Linked DNA regions of Homo sapiens: region 2 is linked to region 1. The links are contacts of gene promoters, found by promoter capture Hi-C in blood cells and fetal thymus (Javierre and others, 2016). All regions are on one chromosome and are shown on one strand. The core of a region is centred on a gene start or on the middle of the fragment in contact, and the rest is flanking DNA. Distances in the headings are between cores, read along the strand shown. Region 1 holds the start of CLCA1 (chloride channel accessory 1). Region 2 overlaps CLCA4-AS1 (CLCA4 antisense RNA 1).

Region 1 (6,792 bases), core at 1,274-3,773:
AGGACAACTAAAGACCCCACTCAGGGATGAAGGGTGGGATTACCCCAACAAGAGAACAAACAATACAGATCAACCAAAATGCTGAGTAAAAGTGAGGGAAATAGGTGATAAAGGAGGGAGATTATAAAAGCCTTGAGACCAGCTGTAACAGCAGGCATTGCAATTTATTTCAATAACCTTCTTGCCTTATGCACTTGAGCAGATTGCAATTGACCACCACTTTGAAGGAGATTCTGTAAATGATTAAACTTGTACCTTCTCTCAGGGGAAAAGTGAGACAGCTAGTGCTCACACACACAGAAACACAAATCCTACATTATAATATTGGAGCTTGATATGATGAAAGTACTAGAGTGAATCTGAGCAGCTCAGAGTGAACTGTATCAGACTCTTCTTATTGAACCTCCTCAGATTTGCTTGGTTCCATCTGTCTACCGGGCACTCAGTCATTTGCTCCACCTCAGTCACTATCCACTCCTTGCAGGTCCAAGCAGTTCCACTGCCTGAGGTCAAGCTGCCACCTCTTGTAACCCCTGGCTCCTCACATACCACAAGGCATGGGGGTCTCTCTTTCTAAGCGACTGCCGAAAGGGCTGGATGACACAGCCAGGAAGTCTGGGGGGAGATGATCACCTGTAGAAGATGAGAAGGAGCCAAACGCTTTTCCTTCCTCTCTCCAAAGGGCTGCTCCAAGGCGTGGTTTCTTTGCACAGCCCCTTAGGAGACAACCCACACAGGAAGGCAAGGGCGCCTGTGGGCTGGCCTGCTGGGTGTCTCCATTGCAGGGCTTAGTAATGCTCCTCCTTTAGTTGCTTCCCAGCCTTCCCTGACTCATTTCCCCATTCCCTCATTCTCACTGCTCTGGGATTAAACTCTCAAACTCTTAGCACATATGCCTGCCTTAGGCTCTGTTTTTTAGGGAACCCAGGCAAAGACACATACATTTGGGGTCTGAGATATCTTGGAATCTACATTTTTAAATTTTGTATGAATAATAAATGTATATGTATTTTGATATAAAAGCATATTTTGGATCATCTGGACAACCACATTATAATTGAGCATTTCCACTCTATTTCAGTGTTTCCCTTTTAACTGCTTAAGATTATGCTAGATATAAAGGGTATTCAATTAGGAAAAGAGGAAGTCAAATTGTCCCTGTTTGCAGATGACATGATTGTATATCTAGAAAACCCCATTGTCTCAGCCCAAAATCTCCTTAAGCTGATAAGCAACTTCAGCAAAGTCTCAGGATACAAAATCAATGTACAAAAATCACAAGCATTCTTATACACCAACAACAGACAAACAGAGAGCCAAATCATGAGTGAACTCCCATTCACAATTGCTTCAAAGAGAATAAAATACCTAGGAATCCAACTTACAAGGGACGTGAAGGACCTCTTCAAGGAGAACTACAAACCACTGCTCAAGGAAATAAAAGAGGATACAAACAAATGGAAGAACATTTCATGCTCATGGATAGGAAGAATCAATATCGTGAAAATGGCCATACTGCCCAAGGTAATTTACAGATTCAATGCCATCTCCATCAAGCTACCAATGCCTTTCTTCACAGAATTGGAAAAAACTACTTTAAAGTTCATATGGACAAGATGAAATTAATGCTTATCACCATCTGAAGACCAAATGAATTTATGAACGAAGAGATATTTCAAGTATTTCAATACAAGAAAATGGGGGGCCAATTTGAGGTTCCACCTGAGGTTTGGCAAATTGAAAGAATATACACAGCCACTGACAGCCCATAATTCATGTTCCTAGGGACATTTAGTTTCAGCAAAATAATTTAATGATGTTAATTGGAATTTTATTGACTGGTAGGAGCTATGCAATAGAGAAAGCAGAAATCTGATGAGGAACTTGGAGTATGCTTTGCAAAGTAAGATATACATTTTATCTTTACTCTCCATTATAAAATAGTCAATAATATCTACATCACTTGCTAATGCTTTTGGTACAAATGGATGTGGAATATAATTGAATATTTTCTTGTTTAAGGGGAGCATGAAGAGGTGTTGAGGTTATGTCAAGGTAAACAAAACCACCATTGTGGTAAAGACCACCATGAGGGATAACTGAATATATGGCTTACAAAATGTTTACTGAATAAGCAGAACAGTCTGGATTTTCCTGGGCAGGAGGGGGTTGGGGGCTTTGGGTGGGTTGGTGTCCATGGCTTGGTAAACATTTCCAAGAAGTAAACAAACCTATCAGCGGCCAAGCTGCTTGTCACCTGTGAGTGCTTCCAAGGAACCGGATGTGGGCTCCCCCACCCTTACCCCAGCATCTGGCACAGCTGAAGGCAGATGGAAATATTTACAAGTACGCAATTTGAGACTAAGATATTGTTATCATTCTCCTATTGAAGACAAGAGCAATAGTAAAACACATCAGGTCAGGGGGTTAAAGACCTGTGATAAACCACTTCCGATAAGTTGGAAACGTGTGTCTATATTTTCATATCTGTATATATATAATGGTAAAGAAAGACACCTTCGTAACCCGCATTTTCCAAAGAGAGAAATCACAGGGAGATGTACAGCAATGGGGCCATTTAAGAGTTCTGTGTTCATCTTGATTCTTCACCTTCTAGAAGGGGCCCTGAGTAATTCACTCATTCAGCTGAACAACAATGGCTATGAAGGCATTGTCGTTGCAATCGACCCCAATGTGCCAGAAGATGAAACACTCATTCAACAAATAAAGGTAAGTTCATAGTAATTATCCATACTTTTTTAAAAATAGCATAATGTTGTGATAGAGAGAACATGAGTGCCCTATTCCAGCTGCACGACACTGGCATGTATTTTTATGTCTAAGTCTCAGTTTCTTCATCTGTAAAATGGAAATAATAACAAGTTAACCATTAGGATTCTTGTGTCAGATAAGATAATGAATGCAATGCACATAACTCAGAGTGATATACTGTTGGCAACTGATAAATGATAAATTGATATGTACTGCTGTGGATTATGTCACTGAAAATTATTTAGTTCTATAGTAAGGCAGAGTCAGCTACATTTGACAGATATTGTGAGATGCACAGATCCTTTGCCTGATTTTACCCTTGGCACGAGTCAGACTCTCCTTTTATTCTCCTAATAGGAACCCCCTTCCCTGTGATCCTAAAAGGAGCCCCAGATGCAAATCTCTGATATAAGAACAACCCTGACCTTCTGATGGGAGAAAACCTTGCATTTTATCAGTCCCAATTCAAGGGATCCTTTCAGAGATTTCTTGCTACCTCTTATGTAGCAGAAGGGAAAGGAAGAAGACTTCCTGTCCTGGCAGGGGTATCTATACCATTGAAGAAGGTCTTGTACAACAACAAACAGCTAAAACTAAGAGGGAAATGCTTTATAAAAGACCGCCCTGGAATCTGGCTGTAACACATCCAGAGGCAGTGCTGTACTAGTAACAGTATTAGTCTGTAAAATGGGAATAATAATAATAAATATCTCCCTTATCAGATTTTGTGAGGATCAAAGTTTAAAATGCATGCATATAAAGGGAAGCTGGGTGGAGTATGTAAGAATACGGTGCAATACTTTGCATGTCTTCTGTTCATCTAAATTTATCTCAGAACTTTAAAAAATAACTTTAAAAATGCATGCATAGTGCCTGGTACATAGTAAGAGCTCAATAAATGGTGGATATAGTCATTGGCTCTCTCTAGATGGAAAATTAATAGAACAAGGGCCCAGAGGGATTTCCCCAGAGATCCACTGCTCTAAGCAGAGGCAAATATAGAAAGATAATGTTTGGAAAGAAAACCATCTCTACAGTGTGTGGTTAGAGAATTGCAGCAGTAGGGGATAGGGATAGGGAACAGAGTGGAGGGTGTCACTCACCATAAAGCTTACCTACTTAACCCAAAGAGGATCAGGCTGTCTGTGGTAAAAGGGAGATTCAGACCTCTTGAATCTCTCAATCATCTAAAATGTTGAGTGAGTTTTTGATTGTTTCTAAATTTGGAAGTGGCATCAGCAAACATGTGACCAGTGTGTTTCAGTCTCTGGCTAGACAGTGGGGTTCAGCAATATGCCAGAAGGAGAATGTAGATGCCGTATTCATCTTCAGTGACCGTGGTAATTTGTATCTACAGTATATAGTGACTAGAGCTTTCAAAGTGCTTCTACTTCATTGTCCTTGGAGGTTTTCCTCCCGAGATACGTACTTCTCGCTACAATTATTAAATTGTCTTTCCAGTATGGATCCTAAAGTTGGGGGTGAGATAAGTTGGCTTCCATCATTTCCTTCTCTGTAACAAGAACACTTTAGTGAATAGAATGCTCAAAGTCCCTAACTCCTTCCTATTTGATGTTCCAGATCTGCAGAGTTGAGGGACCTCGTTGAGGGCTTGGCCACCTTTCCCAACCATTCCTCCCTCTACTCCAACAACCTTCTTGCTGATGAGAGACTCTCCCCTGGTGCCCCTGTGGGGACAGAAGCCCCTAACTCAGCTTTTAAAATATTTGCTTCAGCAGGACAGTCCCCAGATTTCCCCACCTACAAGAGCAGTTAATCGCTCTGCACCACTTCCATCCACTGCATTCTTGCTAATATTAGCAGGGGGAGTACACGTCACAAGATGAGGAAGGGAGAGTCAGAGAGAAACTCTCTCTTCCCCCGTCAAATATACATACACACACACCACACGCACAAGCTCGTGTGCACACACACACGCCCATGCACACACGCAGACATACACGCACACACGCACGTCAGAAGGTACACAGTAGGGTTATTTTGGAGTCTCTGCAATGCTCAGCACCCCAGGCACTGTGCCTGTCTTGGCAGTTCTATACCACTTTGCCATTTACTAAACCCACTTTATTTATCCATTTGTTTGTTTATTCATTCAACAAATATTTACAGAGCATCTAAATTATGTCAGGTACTAGAAGTCCAGTGGTCAATATACTGTCCCTGTCCTGAAGGAATTTCTAGCCCATTCTATAAACTGTCACCCCCAACCTTCTCTCAGCCTAAGAGTCTAAATATGTATTAGGATATGAGGTCATTTTCTGAAAATCTGAAACAGATGCCAAAACAAAGATCCCTTATTATTGTTTCTATTACAATGTGGAAGACAAGAGCATTTCATGGTACTTATTCTTCCTGGGAGACATTGGAAATTCACATTTCACAAGTCAAATGGTAAAACAATACTCTAATATATGAAGTTTTATACCTACTTTTCAAGTTTTTGGTGATCTTGGCTCATTTTTTAATTTTATTTTTTAAAGTGACATAATATTAAACTCTCCTAGTGAGTGTTAAAAATCTGGGAGTTTTAGAAGGAGAAAATGTAAATCATTAAGAACACTTAAAAAAATAGAGGCAACCATTATTATCACTATTTGAAAGGGAGAAATTGAGGCTCAGAGAAGTAAAATAAGTTCTTTAAGTTTACCCCTTAGGAAGAGGCACAGCAGGACTTACCCGTGCACTAACACCCAAGTGCTGCTTCCCCATAAAATGGTGAAGCATTTCTGCTCCTAACACGACCCCCACTAGGCAATGGAGTCTAGTCACTCTGGTCTGTTCCCGCAAGGACTTTGCTCCTGCAATGACCCCTTTTTCTTTTACATTTTTGTTTTTTTTTTCATTAGCATAGAAATATTTTATAATATAATATTAAAACAAACAAAACTGTCTTGTCCTGAAGTCCACTTCCAGCTGCTGCCTATTTCTCCATTCCCCTTTAGTTCACAGAAAAACTTCTGAACCTGTTGTTGTCTGTATTTACTGTCTCCACTGCCTCACCTCCCACTTTCTTGAAACCACTCTTACGGAGCTGCTGTATTTATTCCACTACTAGGGCTCACCATGCTGCCAAGTCCAGTGATCAGTTCTTAGTCCTCATATGAAGTGATGGCTCAGCAGTGCTTGACACCGATGATCACGCCCTCCTCCCTATAGCTCTCTCATCCCACAGCTCCTCATTTCCTCTGCAGGCACTGACTGCCCTTCTGAGGCCCCTGTATTGGCTCCTCCTCTTTCTACCTCTGAATGCTGGGGTCCCCCACATTCCCTGGGCTCAGTCTTCAGCCTCTTTTTTCCTCTGTCTATGCTCACTTTCGAAGCAAATGGTTTTCAGTCCTAACAGATACACTGCCCCCTTTCTATAACAGTATCTTCTATCACTCTCCCTACTCTCTCGTCATAACATATCACAGGGAATCTGCAGACACATTTATAATTTAACGCTGCAGCTATTTCATTTTAGAGAAGTAAAATTAGGTGTAATTTGAAAATATATAATTATGCTATTTTCTTATATCTCTTAGTACCACACTGCACAAAAAATAAATACTTCTATCAGCACTTGGCAAAGTTTAAAAAAAAGAAAAATGAATCAATAAATAAATAATACCACAACATTTAGTATTACATTTAATTTGACTTAGTATATAATCCCAAAATTATTACAGGAGTCAGCAGGTGTTAAAATCACATTCACTTTTTCTCTTCATTACTACTTGCTGTGAGACCTTGAGAATTATACTAAGTCTCAGTTTCACCCTCAAAGATTTGTGGATTCTCAAAGAAGCAAGTGAAACGCATAGCTAATATTTTATACTTGCTTGTGCGAAGTAAACACTGTTCCTAGCACATCATATGTTTCACTTTGTTCCTCACCACAACCTTATCAGCCAGTCACTATAATATAATATTCCATTTTGTTAATGGGAAAACTGAGGCTCAGAATTAGAAATTGCCGAATGTCCCACAAAAAGTGGTGCAGCCAGGATTAGAGTCTGT
Region 2 (6,772 bases), core at 1,858-4,357, 180 kb after region 1:
TGATTATTATTCTGCTTAAATTTGTAAATAATTTTGTATTCCAAACAAAAAGTAGGAAAATATTACCAAAGCTCTCAGACAGATTTTTTTTTAATGTTTCAGACAGGCACTTGGACTTACAGCGTTCGAAACAATCATACCAAATCTCAATTGCTAACTGTGACAATGACCACTCGAGCAAGAAGCCCTACCACACTCCCAGTAATTGCAACTGCTCACATGAGTCAAAATACAGCTCATTACCCTAGCCCAGTGATTGTTTATGCATGAGTCAGTCAAGGGTTTCTTCCTGTTCTGGGAATCAATGTAACAGCCATTATAGAAAATGAAGAGGGACATCAAGTAACATTGGAGCTCTGGGACAATGGCGCAGGTAATAAGAATCTACATCAACTTCCACTAAACTTAAAATCCTCCTACAGTTCTATGACCTAGAAGTCAATATTTCCTGTATTTGCTAATGAATCATATTTTTAAGTAAATGAAATTTAATCCTAATGTTTTAAAAACTTTTTTCTCAGTTATCTTGACAACTCATAGACATAGCACTTATGCCATTTTTAAATTTTATGAACAATTTTGCTTTTTCCATGGAACTTAAGAGCACAATTTTTCTCTATTTTCATTAATGTCAGTGTTTCATATATGCTTTCTTCAGTTGCTTTTTCTTATTTTGATAAGTATTTTTTATGAAATAATAGTAACAGCTAATATTAATTGAATCCCTTCCATGAATTAGACTTTTCCAAAAACACAGAGTTAGCAAGTGGCCCAAGCTTTCAACCAAAATAGTCTGATTCCAGAATTCATGTACTTAAAACGCTGTGCTACATACTATCTCCCAAATTACTAACATTATCAGTGTTCATAAACAGATATGACTGTCATTTTTACTTTATTGTATGACTAATTTTTACATTTCATTATCAAGGTGCTGATTCTGTCAAGAATGATGGCATCTACTCAAGGTATTTTACAGATTACCATGGAAATGGTAGATACAGTTTAAAAGTGCTTACCCAGGCAAGAAAAAACACAGCTAGGCTAAGTCAACAACAGAATAAAGCTCTGTATGTACCGCGCTATGCTGAAAATGGTAAGTAGCACTAAAATAGAAATGTGTCACTTGTTTAGATAAATTCCATACGGCAAACATTGAAAATATAATGTACTACAGAAAGCCCAAGTATATAACCTTGTAATCATCTGTATGTTTCAAAACCATGTTGATATTAGTAGACCTAGCATAGACCTATGTTTCCACATATTTTGTTCACATCTCCCTGAGTTCATTTCATTTACATTGAAAAAAAAATTACTGAGCACCTACTATGTTGCAAGCACTGTGCTTAGGTGCTAGAGCTACAAAGACAAAACATAATCCTGTTCCTCAAAGAATTTGCAGTCAAGTAGTAGAGACAGAGAAGTTAAAAGATAGTTTTAACATAGCATAATGTTTCCTCATCAATTTTAAAATATGAATAAACAAGTGTTTTCTCAGTAAAAACTGTTACTTTTTCAATGTCTGCCAATCAATATTAAGCCTCTACAGCTGCAAGATCAGCTTGCAAGATGAATAGGCACCGCTGCCGGGCGCGGTGGCTCACACCTGTAATCCCAGCGCTTTGGGAGGCCGATGAGGGTGGATCACCTGAGGTCAGGAGTTCCAGACCAGCCTGGCCTACATGGCTAAACCCCGTCTCTACCAAAATACAAAAATTAGCTGGGCGTTGTGGCGGGCGACTGTAGTTCCAGCGACTCGGGAGGCTGAGGCAGGAAAATCGCTTAAACCCAGGAGGCGGAGGTTGCAGTGAGCCGAGATCACGCCACTGCACTTCAGCCAGCCTGGGCGACAGAGCGAGACTCCATCTCAAAAAACAAAACAAAAAAAATAAAAAATAAAATAAAAGAGTAGACATGGCAATATGAAATATTACAAAATTTTTTCTTGGTAGGAAAAATTATACTGAACCCATCCAAACCTGAAGTCACAGATGATGTGGAAGGAGCTCAAACAGACGACTTCAGCAGACTCATCTCTGGAGGGTCGTTTACTGTATCAGGAGTGCCTCCTAATGGTAATCATTCTCAGGTGTTCTCACCTGGTAAAATTGTAGACCTCGAGGCTAAGTTTCAAGGAGATCATATTCAACTTTCATGGACTGCCCCTGGCAAGGTCCTCGATAAAGGAAGAGGTAAGTTTGACATTACGTTTTAAAATATACTAAAAGAAATCCCATTGGCTTTCATTTGCTAAGAATTTTCTAATGGCCCATTTATAAATAACATTTATGAAGTGTCTACTATAGGCCATTTTTAAATTATTTTCAGATGTGAAAACTAAAGCTATAAGAGTTGATTGGACCAAGTTATTTCTATATTTAGTAACTTACAATTCTAACCCAGTCATGTCAGATTCTGTTATGCCAAACTATCTGTCAGAAATTGAAGCAGCTTAGAAATTACTTTGAGAGGACAGTTAACAGCTTTCTGTTGCATTATCTTCTCCCCAAATTTTAAGTATTTCTGTACTTGCACAGTTTCATTCATTTATCAACCTTCTGTTGAGCTTTCACACTATTAGAATCCTAAGAAATGATCCATACTCTCAACAGTCAATTAAGTACAGAAGACACACAAGTAAACAGATAATTACATAAAGTATAATAAGACATAAGCTTTTATAAACAGAGAATTATGTGGCAACCCATAGATGGGCCACAAACCCCTAGTTAGAGGTTAAAATCAGAGTATATTGTAAAGCCTTCCCAGAGAAGACTATCACTGAGTATTGAAGAATGAGAGTAGTTACCCAAGATAAGTGAAGGTGTCCACAGAGAGAGATGTTCATGTGCACAGAAATTCACTAGTTTGAAAGATTTGTTCATGGAGTTTGAATAAAGTTCAAGGTCAAAAGATCTCATTTATTCAAAGTTCCTAATGATAAATGACCCTCACTCCAAAAAGTTTAAATTACTTCTGTCATTGCTTGAAATTTAACTGAATTCAATCAGTATTTATTGAATGCCTACCATATTCCAGTATTACATAGGTTAGTAGATTTTTATGGGATAACGCCAGTCTTGCTATTTTCCCTTTAAGATTGGGAAAATGAAAGCAATATGCAATTTAGATATACATAATAGCTCAGAGATTGCCAGTGCTAAAACACCAGTGTTCCAGTACTCTTTCTCCTGGATTACAATAAACCCCATTGTACACTCTCAAAAGAAAAGATGCTTCTTAATCTTTCACTCACTATATAGCATTTTAAAAGCTGCATTTCTTATTATCATTATTATACAAGGAGAATATCATTCTAAAGTCAGAGGAAACAGAATATGCACAAACAGAGCTTTTGTATTTCAATGTTGAAAATCTTATCATGACAGCTTTTTGCATACCTTATTTTCTCATGCTATGACCCTTAAACATATGGCAGAATCAAAAAAAGTGAAAAATACCATTGCCACTGAAAAAGCCACAAATGAAATTTCTTAACCAAATATTTAGTTCTATAGTGAATTCAGTAAAAACCAAGCTTTCAGTTCAAGATTGGGTTCATAATAAATATCCCTCATGCTGATTATAAGAACTAAAAGTAGGAGTAATGTATAACCACAAATGCCTAAAATAGGTGGCATCTAATCTTTGTCTTTCCTTAGGAAAAATAGGAAGAGGTATTGGTACCTGTTAAATGTTACCTGTAGATATTCCAAAGGTAAGATAGTAGCAGTATCTTAAAGAATAAATGAACGTCTATATAATCTCAAATGAAGCACTTAAATTACCTGGGACACAATTTCCTCACCTGTCAAATATACAAATTAGATTAGATTACCTAAAATTACTAAAACAAGTAGATATAATTCAAATTTTTTATGATTTTCTAATTTTATCATTTTGGGTGTCAACTTAACAACTGTATTGTTGGCCAAGTAATTAAGGAGATCAAATACATGTCAACACAGGACCAGGTACCCTGAGTGATACAAAGAGTAAAAAACATAGTCTTTACCCTCAAAAATAATAAGATCTAATCAGAATGAAAAGTTGAACCTCTACTAAACTATCTGAAAAACTCCACTCCATGAAACAGAAGTTCATGAAAGAGAGTCATCAGGGTGAATGAAATACTTGGACGGAACTTCATGCAGTTGGGCTTGGTTGGACCTTAAAGAATGAGTACAATTTGCATATATAGGGAGAAGGAGGTACATTTTGGAGAGAGAAAGAACAAAATTATATGATCAAGGTCAAGAAAGCAAAATTTCACAATGGAATATTCTAATTAAAATAAGAAATAGGTGGAGAGAAGAGAGACAGAGAGACCTACGTAAGTGGAACACAAGGTTTTTGTGAAGAGTAGTAGAACGGATTGATAAGGCCTATTTAAAAGGAAACTAAATGTTAAGCAGAGGATCTGAATTATTTTTAAAAATACACTAAAAGTTATTCACCACACACTTGAAATACCTTCAATATTTCATGGAAAAGTTAAAAATAAAGTCCTTACTCCAAAAAAAATCTGGTGTTTTATTTTTCATCACATTTCAGAATGTGAGAATATATTTCTACATGAATGGTAGATATCAAAAAGCAGTGTAGAAAGAAACATTTATGTTGGCATCTTCTTTTCCTTTCTTGATAAAATAACAGCCAATATTTCAAACATTTATTAATTTACCATTTATTAAATTGTAGTGAACATGTTTCATGCATTATCATCTATGATTCTTACCACTAGAATAGTAGGCACTCAATAAATATTTGTTGAATGATTTGAATAACTGAATCCCTATTTTAACAGATAAAAAACTAGAGATAAGGAAACTTAAGTCGGGGTGCGGTGGCTCATGCCTGTAATCCCAGCACTTTGGGAGGCCGAGGTGGGCGGGTCACAAGGTCAGGAGATCGAGACCATCCTGGCCAAAATGGTGAAACCCCTTCTCTACTGAAAAAAAAAAAAAAATTAACTGGGCATGGTGGCGCATGCCTGTAATCCCAGCTACTCGAGAGGCTGAGGCAGGAGAATCACTTGAACCAGGGAGTCAGAGGTTGCAGTGAGCTGAGATGGCACCACTGCACTCCAGCCTGGCGACAGAGCAAGACTCTGTCTCAAAAAAGAAAAGAAAAGAAAAAAAAAAGAAAAGATATCTTAAATAAATTTCTTTTTATGACACAGCTAGCAAGTAGTAAAATTAGGGTGCTACTCAAGGTTTGTCTAGGTCCTTAACACATATTTACTTTTATTTTTTATTTTCATATTTTTAAATTTTTAATTTTTGTGGGTACATAGTAGGTGTATATATTTATAGGGTACATGAGATTTTGATCCAGGCATGCAATGTGAAATAATCACATCATGGAGAATGGGGTATCCATCCCCTCAAGCATTTATCCTTTATGTTACAAACAACCCAACTACACTCCTTTAGTTATTTTTAAATGTATAATTAAGTTATTTTTGACTATTGACTATAGTCACTCTGTTGTGCTGTCAAATAGTAGGTCTTATTCATTCTTTCTAACTGTTTTTTTGTGCCCATTAACCATCCCCACCTTCTCCTACCCAGTCCCCCACTACCCTTCCCAGCCTCTAGGAACCATTCTTCTACTCTGTATGTCCATGAGTTTAATTGTTTTGATTTTTAGATCCCACAAATAAGTGAGAACTTGCGATGTTTGTCTTTCTGCTTAGCACGTGTTTAATTAGTACACATTCCAGTCTCTCTGCCTCCTTTTGCTGGTTATCCTTATCCCTGTTTCCCACTCCATTTATCATCTCTCTTTCTCCCCTGTCCTATTACTTCCTATTTTAACTTAATAAGAAATGACACAGATATAGGGTACTGAATATCTTCGCTATACTACAATACTATTATGTTCCTTGTTCTAAATTAAAAAGTAGATCCAGCTCCTTATATTTCTCTCCCTAAAAAGGAAAACACCAGAGTCTGACTTTTTAGTACCATATGATTTTGAATTAAAATTTCCTGGGATTAGAGAACTCTACATTTTAAGAAAAACTGTTCACACATTTGTCCTTACAATAAAGATGGAATAACCAGACAAAAACTAATGGGATTTCCATAACTAAAACCTAGTGTGCATTTCTGATAGGTTTCTAAATGTAAAGCAGTGTGGTGGTAGCAAGGCATCCTAGTGATTTTAATATATCTGAAGTATCTATTTGTTTTCCAGCTGAGAGCTACATTATAAGAATAAGTAAACATTTCCTGGACCTCCAAGAAGATTTTGATAAAGCTGCTTTAATAAATACTTCTGGTCTGATACCTAAGGAGCCTGGTTCAGTAGAAAGTTTTGAATTTAAACCAGAACCTTCTAAAATAGAGAATGGTACGACATTCTATATTGCAATTCAAGCCATCCATGAAGCCAATGTCACCTCAGAGGTTTCAAACATTGCACAAGCAACTAACTTTATTCCTCCACAGGAACCCAGCATTCCTGATCTGGGTACCAATATTTCTGCAATCAGTTTGGCAATTTTTGGATTAGCTGTAATTTTATCTATATTTTAAACTAGAAATTATATTAGAACTCAAATTCAATGTTATACATACTTGGTAAACATTTATTTAAAATTTAATTTACTATACTTATTGTCTATTATAAAGCTCATTATAATATAAAAGTGAAGTACAAAAGTTGTAAGTTTCCTAATTACTTGATTAATTAATACTATTTGAGTTATTAAATGTTAATCAAAATGAGTATATCATTTCCTGTCTTTGAATAATCCACTCAT

What was found. The method cuts DNA at HindIII sites, captures the fragments that hold promoters and counts their contacts. A CHiCAGO score of 5 or more calls a contact.
Region 2: a fragment that was not itself captured here is called in contact with the fragment with the promoter of CLCA1 in region 1 in 1 of 17 cell types (total B cells); the score reaches 5.6 in total B cells.

What each region holds. Positions count from the first base shown.
Region 1 is chr1:86,466,404-86,473,195 of GRCh38, forward strand. It overlaps CLCA1 (chloride channel accessory 1), which reads left to right and starts at 2,524. Exons shown (of 14, transcript NM_001285.4): 1 at 2,524-2,730. The coding sequence starts at 2,569. The HindIII fragment of the contact is 8,280 bases long and covers 1-3,880 here.
Region 2 is chr1:86,648,203-86,654,974 of GRCh38, forward strand. All of the region lies in intron 4 of CLCA4-AS1 (CLCA4 antisense RNA 1), which reads right to left. It also overlaps the pseudogene CLCA3P. Among named protein-coding and RNA genes, the nearest start is that of CLCA4-AS1, 53 kb to the right of the region's middle. RefSeq lists an enhancer at 1-604. The HindIII fragment of the contact is 863 bases long and covers 2,677-3,539 here.